Linked DNA regions of Homo sapiens: region 2 is linked to region 1. Evidence: promoter capture Hi-C in 16 types of primary human blood cells and fetal thymus (Javierre and others, 2016). All regions are on one chromosome and are shown on one strand. The core of a region is centred on a gene start or on the middle of the fragment in contact, and the rest is flanking DNA. Distances in the headings are between cores, read along the strand shown.

What was found. Contacts are between HindIII fragments. The CHiCAGO score rates a contact against its expected background, and 5 or more counts as called.
Region 2: a fragment that was not itself captured here is called in contact with the fragment with the promoter of TREML2 in region 1 in 1 of 17 cell types (neutrophils); the score reaches 5.1 in neutrophils.

The regions. Positions count from the first base shown.
Region 1 is chr6:41,199,899-41,204,658 of GRCh38, reverse strand. TREML2 (triggering receptor expressed on myeloid cells like 2) reads left to right here and starts at 3,510. Exons shown (of 5, transcript NM_024807.4): 1 at 3,510-3,705. The coding sequence starts at 3,651. RefSeq lists an enhancer at 3,222-3,291. The HindIII fragment of the contact is 14,567 bases long and covers 1,926-4,760 here.
Region 2 is chr6:41,059,883-41,064,602 of GRCh38, reverse strand. It overlaps APOBEC2 (apolipoprotein B mRNA editing enzyme catalytic subunit 2), which reads right to left. Exons shown (of 3, transcript NM_006789.4): 2 at 2,711-3,275; 3 at 1-502. The coding sequence ends at 2,732. Among named protein-coding and RNA genes, the nearest start is that of APOBEC2, 9.0 kb to the right of the region's middle. The HindIII fragment of the contact is 1,506 bases long and covers 1,599-3,104 here.

The DNA.
Region 1 (4,760 bases), core at 2,261-4,760:
TTTAAAAGGAATGATGTATTAATACAACGTATAGCACAAGTACAGCTACAACATGGACAAACCTGGAAAACATGCCAAATGAAAGAATCCAGTCACAAGGAACACATATTGTTCAATTATGTTTTTATGACATATCCAGAATTGATAAAGGCATTTTTGATTGAAGATATTTTTGTCTAGAAAGACAAAAATATTAGTGGTTGCCTGGGACTGTAGGAATGGGGACTGTGGTAAGCTGATAAATGGTCTCTTAAAAGATATCTGTGTCCTAATCCCTGGAACCTGTGATTGTTACCCTTATATGGCAAAAAACAAAAAAAAAATGATCTTTGCTGATATGAGTGAGTTAAACATCTTGAGATGGTGAGATTATCCTGGATTACGTAGATGGGAACTAAATGCAATCACATGTATCCTTATGTAAGAGAGTCAGAGTGGGATTTGAACACAAAGAGGAGAAAGTGATGGGAAGATGGAGCAGAGGGAGACTGAAGATGCTGGCCTTGAAGATTGGAGTAAAACAGCCCCAAACCAAAGAATGCTGGCAGCTACCTGAAGCTGGAAAGGCAAGGAACAAATTTTTCCCTAGTGTCTCTGGAGAGACTGCAGCCCTGTCGACATCTTCATCTCAATACAGTGTGAACTGACTTCAGACTTCTGCCTTCAGAATGGCGAGACAATAACTTAATACTGTTTTAAGCCACCAAGTCTGCAGTAAACGGATCCAGGGAGTGCCTGCTAACGGGCATGGGGTTTCTTTGGGTGGGGAAATCCTGCAAAATTGGTGTTAGTTGTACAACTCAGTGAATATATTGAAAACCACTGAATTGTATGCTTTAGATGGGTCAGTTTTATATTATGTGAATTATAGCTCACAGAATTGTTGAAAAAAGTCATTGTGACCTTGGGTTAAGCAAAGATTTATTAGATATGACATAAAAATTGATTCATAAAAATTATATATTGGACTTCACCAGAATAAATCAACATAAAGTGCTTCACTTTTCCATTCTGGAAAGAGAGAAATGACAGGAAAAAACCCCACCAGATCAGTGTTTGTCTGGGACTGAAGGGATGACTAACAAGGAGCAGAGGAAAGCTTTTCGGGATGATGGCACTCTTCTCTGTCTCCATTACGGCATTGGATACAAGTCTCTAGAACTCCCAGAACTCGTCACTGAAAAGGGTGAATAGTACTGTATGTAAATTAGGCCTTAATTTTTAAATGGGAAAAATAAATATAAAGACAAAATACACTGCTGTATTAAATCAAATGATAGATGTAAAAGTCTAATGTATACGTATTTTTAATGATTTTGACCAATGCTTCCAAATTTCTCTTAAGAAAGATTGAATCCAGTGCATACTTCCTCGATCAGCGAATGAATGTTTGATTCTTTCTACCCTCATCAGCACAGTGATCCCAAGGGTCACACTTTAGACGATGATTGGCTCAGTGCTGGGCGCACTGTATCAGTTTCATAGAATCATGGATTCCAAGCGCATAAAGTCCCCACAAGAGATAAATCCCCCACTCCTGAAGCAACTTACTGTTCTGATGGGGGAAGGGATGGAGGAACTTACTGTGTGTGCTGGGGAGGGGAGATGGCCCCTGAACTCAGGGAGCTCAGGAAGTTCTGAGGACTGGGTGAGAAACATTGAAAAAGGAAGGGTGAATAAGGAAAACAAAACACGTCTGTGAGCTGAGAGGTCTCAAGTGACAATCGTGTCTCATTCCTACGCCCCCAGTGCCTACCTAGCCCCATGCATAGCAATGAGGTTGTGGGAATGAACAAATGAATGAATGAATTAATGAGTGAGTGAATGAGTTGAGAGACTACAAAAGCTTAGGGTCAGCCGAGATAGACTTCTTTGCTTGGAGCTTGGGGCTTCAAGGTCAATTTAAGATTGTGGCCATGCAAGCTTGAGGACTTTTTGCTCTGAGTCCTGTTAAAATTAATGAAAATGGAGACCAGGCCTGAAGAGTCCCTGAGCAAAAATTAAAAAAACAGTTAGGCCTCATAAGTGACCTCAACTTTGCTTGATTTGCAAATATCAGTGAAACTTAACACGAGCTATTTCTTGTAAATGTGTATATTAAGGAAAAATAGAACTTAAGCTCAACCAATCAAAAGAAACTTATATAATTAACTAGGGTCTTTCCAACAGGATAGGCCAAATAAGGGAACTATATAACTATAACTAATTAAATATTTTCTTCAGTTTACTTGTCCTGTAGGAGTCTTCCCCTTGCATTCCCCCAGTGGAGCTCCTCAACCTCTTCTGTTTGGAGCTGCCTGATTCATGAATTGTTGTTTGCTGAAATAATCTGTTTAAAATTTTATTGTGCCTCAGTTTACCTTTTGACAGTCCCATCTAAGGAGTAGAAACATGGCACTAGTGAGTAGGGGGAGCATACATAATCACGGGAGTCCAGCTGGGTCCCCACACACTGAAGGAGCAGATGACACAGGTACCGGACATCAAAAATTGATGCTTCTGATTCTAGGCCTTGGGGTAAGTGAAGGGTGTGGTCTTGGGCCTAGTGCTGGGTCATTTCCACTGGAGCTGGTGGCTGTACAGGCGAGATAGCATTGAGCAGGAGGAAGTGGAGGGCACTTGCCTGCGTGCTGACGTAGGCTGGAGGCAGGGGAGGAAGGGGGTCTTGAGATGAGGTGGGTGAGGGGAAGTACTGCGGAGGCTGTAGGAAGCCTGCACGAGGGACTAGGAGTCTAGAGGGAGCTGATGGTGAGTAGAGTCGACAGGAGGAGAGGCAGGGAGAGGGACAGAGAGAGGAGACGTATGGATAGGGAAAAGGAGAGGCTGCTGGGGTGTGTGTGAGACTGTGTGCATGGGCGTGTGTGTGTGTGTGTGAAAGTGAATAAAAGACAAAGTGAGACTGTGAGTGTGAGTGCATGTGCATGCACACCTGTGTGTGAGAGTACAGGAACCCCTCCCTCAACCCAAAATTTATGCCCTGAGTCTTAACAATTTGCATTTTTCCCGCTTGACAAAAGTAAGATTTCAAGTGAGCCTGTAAGAGGTTATTTGCAACAGTGAACACAAGTGACTGTTCTGAGCAGCCAGGAGCCTGGGAGAGAGAGAGAGGAAGGAACAGAAAGAATCTGCAATGAATGAATGAATGAGAGTTTATAAGAACTTCCCTGTGAATGTATATATGTAAGAAACTAGGGTCTGAGATGCTCCATCTCAGCCTAAGAGCCCGCACCCCTGGGTCTCTGAGCCCAGAAGATTCCAGGAAGGTCTATACCTGACGTTCCAGAAGCCTCACCCCAGCCCCCTTGCTGGATCCTAGGGACCAGTTTCTGGGGGAGGTTGGGGAGGGCGGGGAGCCCTCTGACTGTGAGTCCTCCCGGCTTGGGGCCCCAGACTGGGTGGAGCAGCCACACCTGCCTGAAGTTCCGAGGAAAAGGGCGGAAACAGCTGCCAGCACCGCCCTCATAATAGGCTCAATGAATCCCTGCGGTTGGCTGGGGGCAGTGGGTCCCACACTGCCTCACTTCCCTAAATGGGCAGCTTCACTTTTAGAACCCCGGGTCCTTCCCTGGCAGGCCCAGGTGGCACATCCTGTGTCGGGTGGGCCCTCACCTTGGATCTCCAGGCCTGACACTGCCCAGCTGGATGGAACCATGGCCCCAGCCTTCCTGCTGCTGCTGCTGCTGTGGCCACAGGGTTGCGTCTCAGGTGAGGGGAGAAGGGGCTGACTTGTGGAGGAGGGAGTGGGTACAGAGGCAGGAGCTCAGGGCCTTTTTCTTACCCTCCTTACCAGCAGTTTTCTTGTTTAGTGTTTTGTGGGTTGGGGAAGGAGGAGATTAGGGCTGACTTAGCTCTTTACCCTAATATCAGGCCCCAGGCGAAGCTAACCCAGGCCTCCCAAGCCAAGATAAAGCTCTGGACCCTCTCTGCATTGGCTCCTTTATCTGCTAGGCTTCCTCAGGCTTTAAAGCAGAGCCCTCAATTTCCTCACACAAATAGCTTTCTCTGCTTGGCCTCTGTCAGGAAGCCCTGCTTAGTTATGACAGCAATCATTGCATCATGTGTGTTTTGAACTGAATTTGAACATTTTTCTTGAAATGCTGATGCCACATCCTGTCCCTGCCTCTGTCCTGAAGGGACCAGTGTGTGAATGCCTTTCCCACCTCACAGATACCAATGCTCCTTGAGGAACCTCACCCATTCCTGCCCCTCTCGCTGCCATGGCAACCAAGTTACCACTTCCTGTTCAGTTCTGGGCATGGTGGGGGTTGGCAAAACTCACCACTGCCTGTGAGAGGGGTGGGAGGTGTAGGCACACATGAAGACATTGCCCTGGAGACCCATCCCAAGGTCACCCAACTCTGCACCTCCCAGAGGGTAGAGAAACAGCTTCCCACTGCCAGGGCAGAAAGGGGTCTCTCTTGTGCTAAGAAATCCTGGGCTCATCCACCAAATAATGAAGTTGGATCATTCTGTTTAGTTTGCAAGGGACAGAGGGATGCTTAGAGAGGGTGCTGCTTCACACAGAGCCTCAGCTCTAGTGGCTGCTGGCTGGGACTTGGGACGGATATCCTGGATTCTGGTGGGACAGATGTCCTGGATTCTGGGCCCTTGACTGTCACAGCTCTGGGTTCCATTGGGGGAACTGGGAGGCCCCAGCATGTGGGAAAAGGAAGCATGAGTTGAGCATGCACTGTGTGCAAAGCACTGACCTGGGGCAGAATTCTCACAGCAACCTGTGAGGGGTGTGGTGCTATTCTCAC
Region 2 (4,720 bases), core at 1,102-3,601, 140 kb after region 1:
AGCCTGGAGTGTCCCTGTGTCTGGACTAGCTCGCTTGTCTGTGGCAACTTCCAGATGTTCAAGTTTCTTAAAAATCTGGCCACGGGAAAAACACACCACTTCTTTTATTAATGTTGCTGTTTTTCTTTTTTTAAAAAAATACCCAACTTAACATAAAATGCATATTTCAGAAATCTAAACCTCGGGTCTGAGGCTGTTTGTGTTAAGCAGCCCCCTTGGGTGAGCAATTAGGACCTTCAGTCCCATAGTTGACTGGAGCCCATGTATGGTTGCATTTCTCTCCTTGCAGGTCACTTTCGTCCTTCCCGAGAGCAGCATTAGAGAGAGAGTCACAGCCTAAATAAACTACAGCATGAGAAGTATATTTCAAGTCCTCTAAGGGCCTTGTCCAGTATGATTGGTTGGTGTCAAATGTTGTCCAGCTCCAAATGGTATTAGGAAGACAGGCATGTCCCAGATGGCTGTACATGTCATTGCTGTCTCTTGGTGGCAGCAGGAATACCTTGGTAAAACAAACAAAGAAAATGTGTTACTGAGAGCTCTGCTGGCCCCGAACAATGACTAGTTTCTTTTTGAACTAAGGTTTCTGTGTGCCCTTCCCAACAAGTCCCTGGATTTCTCCTCCATAGTTTCCTTTGCAGGATTGGGTAAATTTACCAGGATTGACTAAACCAGAAGCCAGTCTTTCGTTCATGTTTTGATGTGGTTTACACAGAAAAAGCCCCAGAAGAGATCTGGTTTAACTCTGGTCTTTTGACTAAATATAGGATTAAATACTATTTTGTCATTAAAAAAAAAAAAAAGAAAGATGAAATAAGTATGTAAAATAAGACACTTTATTTAACAAATGCTCATTTCTCAAGATTATTTTAATTAAGCAGGGTTGTTCTTTTGGGCTTTTAGATTACACTCTTATCTCATGCCAGTTTTTTTTTTTTTAACTTGATATATCTTAACCTTTCCCTTCACAAACATGAGCAATTCAAATAGAAGACAGGGAAGCATGTTAATGGGTCCAGATAATACAGTTATATTTGAAATCACTGAAAAAAAAAAAAAAAAAAAAAAGCTCTAAGGACTTGCTAGTTAGGCACCTGGGCCCTTGACTCTGAAAGATGTCTGAAAGGAAAATATACTGGGGTTAAATTTTAAGCTGCCGGTTAGTCTGTAGAATCTATGTTGGGTTTATAATTACAGTGATAGTACATACACTAACAAAATCTTCAAGGAATTCTAAAAGTTAAATTTTATATTCTCAGAGGGCACCCTCAGAAATCTGTTTTGACTACTGTTCACCACTATAAAGTGTCTTATTTTATGTGAGCAGAGTACCACACAGTATACCCTATCATAGGCTCACTGACTTCAGTGACTGGGTCCTGCTTTTTAAAAGAAATGGCTGAAAGTTGTATCTTCATGGGTTGGCAAATGCTCAGCTTGAGAATGATCAGGTGCCCATGTGCATGTCTAATAGAAAACACCTGCCAACATCAAGCTCTGGAACATTGATATTTCCTAAACGTGTCTATGAAGCGACATCTTCTCTTAAGGGTGTTAGGAGTGAGAGAGACCAAAAGTAAATTATCTTCATGGAAGCTTGTTGTTTTCATGTTTTAGTAATATGTGAGTTGTTGCAGGATTAAAGTTGGGTAAGAGTGTCGTGAGTACCCCTCCTCTATTACTGGAAGATTTTGATCAGTAACTGGGGCCTTGCAAAGGGGGCTTCGTCATAGCATTTCTGTAGGCGCAAACTCAATCAGACTAAATGTAAAAAAGATAGTAAAGGATCCTTTAGCCCTCTTTCCTGAGGGTAATTAGCCTGTTTCTGTTAGAGTTTAATTTACCCTCAGCAAGAGGCCAAATTGGCCTTAATTGTGTCCTAATTATTTGCTTAAATAGCTAATCTTTCTCCTATCACCTCTTGATATCTGTAAGAGGTTACTTCTGAGCTGCTGCCTACTTTACAAATGTCTTTTTAACTCTTTAAATGTTCCTGCATGGACTAGCTTGTTGCTATATTATCCCCATTCCTGCATTCGACATCCTCCATGAATTCTACTGAGGTCTTCTCAACATAAGGAAAATGTTCCCGTATTGTATTTTCACACAGCAATTGTTGGTCTCCTTCAAAGTGTAGCCATTTGTTTGAAAACATGAAAGCAGGTCTGGCTTAAAACAAGTTAAATACCAGTCCATTTGGGGAATTTCAAAATTACCATAAGTGAAAAAATTGTCCCTGAAGGACTAAAAAACATTCATTAGAGAAAAATGGAATGGTAAGATTGCCAGTGGATATGGGAGTGAGGCATCTAGAAGATGTCTGGAATTAGTAATCCCTGACATGTACACAGGGGCATACTCAGAGGATTTCAGTATCTTCTCTGCTGTGGTTCAGTAGCAGGTGCTTGCACCATCTAAATCTTACCAAAGAACGTCATCTTGCCTCATGAAAGTTTTAGGATTCCTGTCAACCTTGAGTATTCTAAGTTAGGGGAAAGTTACTTTGATACAAAAGTGTGGGAGGGAAAAGTTTAGAGAGGGATTCAGAGGAAAGAGACATGTTCTAAACTATTTTTGCAACCAGTCAAAAGCAGAGAAATGAAACCCTTCCAAAGGAAAATCAGACATATCACAGATTCTACCTGACCTCACACCTTCTACTGGAGTTAACATAATAAAGTGTTGGTGCCATGGCACCAGGAAAACTCACGTGAGGCAAAGCCCAGTTGCCCTACTTCAGGATGTCTGCCAACTTCTCCTCGTAGTATAGGAAGTTCTCCTGAATGTCCTCCCAGGGCTGAAAGGCCTTGGATTCACCCTCTTCTTGCTCCACAAAATTCTGCCAGACATATTCGAAGTCCTGGGGCTTCATGATGCGCAGTTTACAGCCAGCCTCCTTCAGCTTCTTCAGAGCAGCCTGGATCTCCGGCTCCTCCCACATGAAGAGTCGACCCACCAGAATGAGCAGACGCAGGTTCTTGGTCTTGCTAAGGGTTTTGATAATGCGGTCAGCACACGCTGCACAGGGGCTGGAGGACACATACCAGGTGACATTGTACCGCAGGGCTGGGTCGAAGGCTGGCAGGATGGTGTTGAAGAAAGCTTCCTCTGCATGGGCAGCCGCATGCTCATCCTCTAGGTATCCCCGAGATGCCTGCACTTGGCCCCCCTTGCCCTGTGCTTCAACCACATAGCAGAGGAAGGTCTTGTTCCTCCCGGAACTGTACTCCACATTCCGGAACTGGAATTTAAAGAAGTTGGCAGGCAGCCGTTCTCTGTAGGTCAAGGAGACAAAAGGACAGGAAAGAATGATAAGTTCTTGTTTCTAGAACCAGCCTAGAGTAGGTAGCTCTTCCAGGTCAGTACTTCAGAAATGCATTCACTCTTACTATAAATAGGTCTTGTCTGTGGTAACATCAGTGACAAAAAAAAAAAAAAAAAAAAAAGCATTAAAAAATCCAGAAGGGTTTATCTGAAGGAGAGGAGAATTTGGACTGAGGTGTGCATTTTGGTCACCCTACTAGGACATTGTCTCCACCATCACTCTTCCAGCACAACATACCCCTACATTTCTAAATCACTGAATCTTTAACCTGCCTATACCTTAGAATCACCTAGAAGACTGAGAATGTCAGTGCCTGGGCCTCATGCCAAACCAATTAAATCAGAACATGTGGAGAGGTGGTCCAAGCATCAGTATTTTTAAAAAGCTCTCTGGATGATTCCAATAAGTGGCCAGGTAAGTAGCAAGCATATAAAATTTCTCATGACAGAGCAAAACAAAGATTTTGCAGAGCATTTTATGCTTTTTTCTCTTCCTTGTAACTCATGTAAATTGCATCTTGGCATGAAATGGCCTAAAACTTGCAATAACATGCTCTCCTTCTCAAGTGACTACTTCTCAAGTCTGTTTACTTTCAGGTAAAGGGATTGTCACATGCTAAGTGTCCAAGAATTTTTATCTGTGAGGACAGACTACTCAAGGGTATCTTGGGATAGTTAAGCCTGTATTTAGTATTGAGTCACCTCCAAATCTTAAAGGACTTGGTCTCTGCCCTCCAGATGCTTATAATTTAGCAGCTAGATTGCAGCTGGACAGAGAAGATGTAAATAAAACAGCTGAGAACATTATAAGACTGCTAAAATTGGATAGGTACAGTAAAGGAAGTATTATGAAGGTTCTCGAAAGTTTGGCCTTGATTCGGGAGGCAGTAGAGAATTGTTACAGGTTCTTGAGAAGGAAAACAATAAAAATGATGTCCATGCAAGATTACAGTCTTGGCAATAGGCAGATAGTGTGAAGCTGAGGAAAAGCCTCAAATTGAACAAGTCCAGTAGGTATCTTAGGACACTAAACTTGGTGATGAATTGTGTGGGTGCCTTTGAGGAGGAGATGGATGGTTAGGAAATGAAAACAGCAGGAAAAGTCCAGGAATTTTGAAAATTTTGGTAATAACAAGGAGAAGAAAAAAGAGAAGGGCCAGAGAAGACATCAGAGTTGAAGATTGTTTTTACTTTTATGTGTATGTGTGTGTTTTTCTAAAATAGGCAAGATTTGTTCAAGTTTGAAGTCCAAAGAAAATGAATTTTTAATAGGAGAGATGAAAAATGTCAAGAGAGGAGGAGATGAGTACCAGCTAGAAAGATTCAATGTTTTCCTTTTTAAAAATGTAATCTCTCTGCCTGCCCCAAGAGATACCTATGGCACCATTAATTCTAC